Regions from separate parts of the Homo sapiens genome. Here region 2 is linked to region 1. The links are contacts of gene promoters, found by promoter capture Hi-C in human tissues and cell types (Jung and others, 2019). All regions are on one chromosome and are shown on one strand. The core of a region is centred on a gene start or on the middle of the fragment in contact, and the rest is flanking DNA. Distances in the headings are between cores, read along the strand shown. Region 1 holds the start of MRPS2 (mitochondrial ribosomal protein S2). Region 2 holds the start of QSOX2 (quiescin sulfhydryl oxidase 2).

Evidence for each region. Contacts are between HindIII fragments. The study calls those that stand out against the background at their distance.
Region 2: the fragment with the promoter of QSOX2 here is called in contact with the fragment with the promoter of MRPS2 in region 1 in 1 of the 25 tissues and cell types used here (mesenchymal stem cells).

Annotation. Positions count from the first base shown.
Region 1 is chr9:135,499,383-135,502,349 of GRCh38, forward strand. MRPS2 (mitochondrial ribosomal protein S2) reads left to right here and starts at 1,300. Exons shown (of 4, transcript NM_016034.5): 1 at 1,300-1,371; 2 at 1,616-1,741; 3 at 2,462-2,591. The coding sequence starts at 1,329. It overlaps PIERCE1 (piercer of microtubule wall 1), which reads right to left and starts at 487. Exons shown (of 3, transcript NM_001048265.2): 1 at 327-487. The coding sequence starts at 469. RefSeq lists silencers at 590-759, 1,030-1,199, 1,410-1,569 and an enhancer at 1,525-2,149. The HindIII fragment of the contact is 18,925 bases long and covers 1-2,967 here.
Region 2 is chr9:136,244,105-136,247,285 of GRCh38, forward strand. QSOX2 (quiescin sulfhydryl oxidase 2) reads right to left here and starts at 1,708. Exons shown (of 12, transcript NM_181701.4): 1 at 1,372-1,708. The coding sequence starts at 1,699. RefSeq lists silencers at 1,236-1,645, 1,676-1,945. The HindIII fragment of the contact is 9,280 bases long and covers 1-3,181 here.

The DNA of each region.
Region 1 (2,967 bases), core at 50-2,549:
GGTGCTGCTGTGCTCACGCCCCGCAGCGGAGTTTCAGGGTAGAGAGGAGAGGAGACTCACCCGACACAAATCAGTGGAGCTGAGACCACAACTGGGCTTTCTCCCCCCACGGCCCTGCCCCCCACTGCCCTTATCCCCACTTCCTTGTATGAGGCTCTAGGGAGCACGGTCGCCGCTCACTGGCGGGCGATGACAGCGCGGGCCCCGGATGACCACTCGATCTTCTTGATTTCTGTAGCTAGGACCTTGGGGGTCTTGCGGGGTCTCTCACACACGGGGCTATCGAGCAGTGGACGCCAGGACCAGGCGGGCCCCAGCTTCCTCACCTGTAGCCCCGGAACCACCCCGGGTTGTTGAACCTGCCCGGCAGGTCCGCGCTCACGCGGTAGTAGTCGCTGGTCCTCTCCGGCGGGGCCGTGGCCTTGGGCGCCACAGGCTCCGCGCACGCTCTGGGGCATTCCTCAGCCATTGTGCCTGGAGGAGAAGCGGGACTCGGCGGCGTCCTGTTGCCAAGCGACGGCCAGGTCACGTGACTGGGGAGCGAGCGGAGGGGCCTTAAAGGCGCCGCGCGTGGGCCGGGTTCCTCTGCGGGTGGGTCCGGAACCTGCCGGGCGACTCCCCAAGGGCCGGGAAGGTCGGGACGGCGAGAGATTCCCTGCTGGGACCGTCGTGTGAGGCAGCCCCAGGCCCCCAGCCACCCGCGGGGGGACCGGGCCACCCCAGCATCAGGGCGTGGACTCCCGGGCGAAAGAAACCCCAGGGCCTGGGACCCCGCCAGCCGGGTGACGGGGTTTAAGCACTGCAGGTCCACTCGGCAGGCAACGATTGGACTTTTGCTGTCCAATGTACTCCAGGGATGCTATGCCCCCCAGCACCCCGAGTCTAAATTGAGACCCGAGATCTGGCTAACTTTATGAAATTCTCCTAAGCCAAATATCGTTTAAATATTACAAACAGTTTTGGAGAGCGAGAGGTTGCGCAGGACGTGGTTCACAGCTCACTTGGCGGGAGGCGAGGGTCCCCATCGCCCAGCGGGCTTCCCCAAGGGTCAGGGGCCTCCCGGGCTGGCCGGTCCCATTAGCAGGGCGGGGCGAGCTGCAGGGCGAGGACCGTGGCTCCACTCCCCGCCCGAGACTCTCAAGCCCAGGACCCCGGGCCCTGACCCCTCGCGTGCCCCGCCCCCGCAGGGAGGTCCCAGCCGCCTGGGGACAGCGCTGTGGCTCCTCCGGGCCTGTAGGCGGCACTGCGGCCCCGCGCGGATGGCGACGGAAGGGGAGGCCGCTCGGCCTGGCCTGGAGGGAGACCTCGCTCTGCCCCGCGTCCCAGCCATGGCGACATCCTCGGCCGCGCTGCCCCGAATACTCGGCGCGGGTGAGCGCGCGCTTGCGGGACCCTGGGGAGGAGCATGCGAGGAGGATGCGGAGGGGCGCGGGGACCCGATGGAGCGGCGGGGACGTGGAGGGGACCCGGGGCGAGCGCGGAGGGGACTCGGGGAGGGCGCGGGGACGCGGAGGGGACCCGTTAGGGACGCGGAGGGGCCCGTTGGGGATGCGGTGGGGAGCGGGCGTGGTGCATTCGGGACTCGGCGCCAGGACCTCTATCTACTTCCCCCCAGGTGCCCGGGCCCCGTCGCGCTGGTTGGGCTTTCTCGGGAAGGCGACCCCCCGGCCTGCTCGGCCGAGCCGCAGGACGCTTGGAAGCGCGACGGCCCTTATGATCCGCGAGTCGGAGGACAGCACCGGTAACACTGGGCGCCCAGCCGAGTTGGGTGGGAACGAGGAGAGGCCGGCAGCCGCGGGGGATGCGAACCCTAGAGGGGCCTGGGCGCTGCACGCGGTCGAAACTGCGCGCTCCGCTGGGCTCCTCCCACTCCCGTGCTCGCCGCCGCTCGGTCCTGCCTGACGTAGCACAGCGGGCTGAGGCCACCGCCTCACCATGGATAGGGTGAGAGGGAGCGGGCGGGCCAGTGGTTAGCACAGGCTTCGCTCCCTAGGGGGGTGTCACTGGACCACCGAGGCCCGGAGCCCCGAGCTCGCCCAGGCGGGCCCAAGTGACCTGGGGGCACTGGGCTTGGAGTCTGCCCACCTTGCTGGACTCCTGATGGGGACTTTCTGGCTGGCCACCTGAGACCACAAGGCGGGGAGGTGCCAGAAAGACCTGAGCAACCCGCTGGGCCCCTCTCTTTTTCTCCTCTGTCTTCCAAGTAAGACCAAGGGACGGGGTTGACCAGGTTCGACCAGGCTTACCCAGGAGCAAGGTCGGGATCAGAACCTGGCTCCAGCCCTCTGTTTCCTGAAAAGGTCCCTGTGCTTCCAGGTCTTTCCTGGGGCTGCTGGGCTCCCGGCTCCCCACCTCGGTGTCACAGAAGGCACTTGGGAGCAGGGGTGGGCGGGAACTGCGCTCTGCCTGTCTCTGCTGCCACCGGTGGGAGACGCAGCGTCGCTCCTCCTCCCTGCCGTAGATTTCAACGACAAGATTTTGAATGAGCCCCTCAAGCACTCTGACTTCTTCAATGTCAAGGAACTGTTTTCCGTGAGAAGCCTCTTCGATGCCCGAGTCCATCTGGGACACAAAGCTGGCTGTCGGCACAGGTAGGTGACACCCCCATCTGAGCCCGGGGCGGTTCCCAGGAGGAACCTGGGACCTGCTCTGGTTCTAGGGCCACTTTTGAACTGGCCTATGTCAGTTTTAGGTGATTACAGCCCCATCCTCCTCCACATGGGAATACAGAGCCCCACAGAGAAGCAGGAGTTTATTCCTCAGCTTGGCGGACGCTCTTGTGTGCCTTGGTGTGGCGCTCACAGCCCTTGATAGGGCAGGCCTGCTGGGGGTTGCAGGACTCCACGGGTTCAGAAATGGAAAGGCTGAGGGCAGAACCTGTAAGGTTGGTCCCCCCGGATCGGGCTGGGCCTTCTGGGCTGCGGGGAGGAGGAATGACTGGTCCTGTATTCTCACATGGTCATTTTG
Region 2 (3,181 bases), core at 458-2,957, 750 kb after region 1:
TGCCAGGGCCACCTGCATTTTAATGAACATATCTGTTTCTGCCACTGAATAACACACAAGAACTGAAGGGTTCCCTACGTGATTGAATTACTTGTTTGTTTTCCTAAAAGCAGTGTCTAAAAACCCCACTGAACAGTTTTTCTGTCCATCTCTTCCAGTCTCTGACCTCAGTTCTGAGTCAGGTCAACAGGGACATAAGAAAACATGAGATCAAAGAGGAGGAATCCATTAGAATCAAAAGGCCCCAGCTCTCTAAGAGGAGAATGCATTTTAAAGATAACCATTTACAGTAACATACAAAAGCCCTACTTAGACTTGAAAAAAAGTTTCTTTACAAATCTGTTTGCGATGAGAAAAATACAGCAGGATTGGGTGTAAGGCATAAAAACAAAGGTGCAGGAAGAAAGAGTAGCAATTTGTTACAGATCTTGCCCACTGAAACATGTAATTTGAGGTTAGCACAACACAGGAAGTCCTGCCAAACCTCACTGGGTCGGGAGGACCTCCTACTTCAGTGATTTAAATACCATTTTAAGGGAAGGGTGTTGTGAATGCCCCCTCCCACGCCAACTCTAACCTGTAGAGCAGGCGAGTAACTTCGTGACTGGTTAACAACGTGCGACCAGATGAAAGCACTAAACAATAAAGTGCGGAACACTACCAGCAGTTTGGTGAAAGATTTCTCAAAGGCTGTGCATCTGTGATCAAGGAGCCCACCAATGAAATTCTTTGTAGAGTTAAAAAAATTGCTTTATAGGTTGTTTTGGGGTATTATAGAGAAGTCTCCAGAGTATTTGGACTTCTAAGTTGTGGGTTCACTTTGAGCACCCACTATATGGCCAGCGATCCGAACCAGAAAGTTAATGATGAAGGTTCAAAGGGAATGGGGTGGCTACGAGTGTGGAATAGGAATGAGGGATCCTCAGAGAACAGGAATTCTGGGCACTGGGGATGGGGTGTGTGGACGCTAGGAAACAGGTAGGGTAGGAGGCCTGGAAGGTCAATGAAGTTCTTGGGGCTCAAAACATAGGTATTTTGAGAGCTGGGATACGGGAGGGCTTCCCTATCCCCAAGCGTGCGGTGAGGGCTGCGGGAGAATGGTTTCATTTTGACTTCAGACAGCCCAACTCGTCAGGATCTAACGGGGATTAACTGGGAGAGACATGGGGAGCAGCTGGCTTAGTCTCCCGCCCCTGGAAAGGCCAGGGTTGGTCCGAGTCGGGTGCCTCTGTGGGGCAGGGACTGGCTCTGCGGTAAGGAAAGAAATACGGGGGAGGGGCCCCGGGACCCGCCTTCTGGGGCGGTCGCAAGGGGTCCCGGAAGGCCGCGGTCCCGGGGGTCGGGGGGTCCCCGCGCGGGGGCGCGCCTCACCTCGCACATCCCCAGCCAGGGCCCGCCAAGTGGGCGCGTAGCCGATGCAGTGGCCACACCACGACGAGTAGAACTGCACGAGCCACGCGGCCGAGCTGTTGGCGGTGGCCCCGCGCACGCTGCCGCTGTCCAGCACCCACACGGCGTCCTCGCCCGCGCGGTACAGCCGCGCCGCACCGCCCGCGCCCGGCCCCACCGCCGCCGCCGCTAGCAGCACTAGCAGCCGCGGCAGCCGTGCGGCCCGCGGCGGGGGCGAGCGCCGGGCTCTCAGCGCAGGTCCCGCTCCGATTCCCGGGCTGCGCGCCACCGCCGCCCCGGCCGCCGCCATGTTGGAAGTGCCGCCGGCGCGCTGAACTTTCACCCTGGCAACCACCGTCACGTGCGCCGGCGCGCCCGGCCCCGCCCCCGCGCGCCCAGTTCTGTTCCGCCCCGCCCCCTCACGTCTGACCCCGCCCTCTCTCCCCGCCCCCGCCCCCGCCCATGCGTGGCAGCCCCGCCCCCAAGAGTCTGATGACGCCATCTCCCCGCCCAGGCGCGGCAGGCTCCGCCCAGGCCCCGCCCCACCCCGCCGCGCGTTCCCCAAACCCCTTCCCTGAACAGGGCCAGGTGGCCACATTTAGCAAATGGAAGTGCACGACGCCAGGTTCAACGTGAATTTCAGACAAACAGTGAGTCGGTTTTTCAGCCTAGGTCTGTGCCATGCCTGAAATACAAATTTAACAAGACATTCTTAGACGTAAAAAACTATTCCGGGGTTCTTTTACTTGGCAACCCCACCTGGGGCTTCAGAGGGTCTGCAAGCCAGCCTCGACTTTTTAATATGATATTGGAACGCTTAGAAAATGCAGCAAAACATCCACTCAAAGTCAGATGTGTTGTGTGCTACCTTTTAGGATGTTCCAGTCGAATGCAGCTTCACGGTTTGGAAATGAAATCATATGACTTTTTTGCTTCATTGAACAGGATACCTGATTTTTTTTTTTGTTCCTATTCCTAATTTTTACACATGTCAAGATTTTCTCTGAACTGTGTGACCAAAACAAAACAAGGGAGTGGGCGAGCCTGGGCAACATAGCGAGAGCCCATCTCTTAAAAAAAAGAAAAAAGCCGGGCATGGTGGTGCACACCTGTAGTCCCAGCTACTTGAGGGGCTAAGGTGGAGGATGGCTTGAGCCTGGGAGCTTGAGGCTGCAGTGAGCCGTGACTCTGCCACTGCACTCCAGCCTGGATGACAGAGCGAGACCTTGTCTCAAAATAAATAGATAACTGTATTGTGGGGTTCTGTGTAAGATTTTGTTTAAAAGGTTTTGCTGCTAACAATGGTTAACCCCAGATGAGAGGATTCTCCCCAGAGGGCCCCTGGCCAAGGCGTCTGCTCCCTTTTCCTCACGTCCTGCGTCTCCCTGTTCATGTTTCCTTCCATCACCCACGTTTCCTGGCTTCTGCTCTGTGCCAAGCCCTGGAGACAAATCAAGAACAAAACCGAGCCCCCAGTGTCCCTGGCCTGCATTTGGGCAGACCCCAAACAAACCAACGCGTAAAGCAGCCACCGCGTGCTATGAAAAGCAATGAAGCCGGACACGGAAGCAGGTGCCAGCAGGGCTGCCGTACAGAGGAGGGTGGGGAGGTCTTTGAGAAGGTGACCCGAATGGAGAAGGAGGTGAGGGAGGAGGCACACATGCAAAGGCCCTGGGGCAGAAGGGTGCTGAGCACGCTGGAGGAACAGCAAGGAGCCGGACCTGGTGGGAGCGGAGCAAGCTGGGGGAAGCGTGGGAGGGAAGAAAAGCTGAGAGCCCGAGCGAGACCCAGG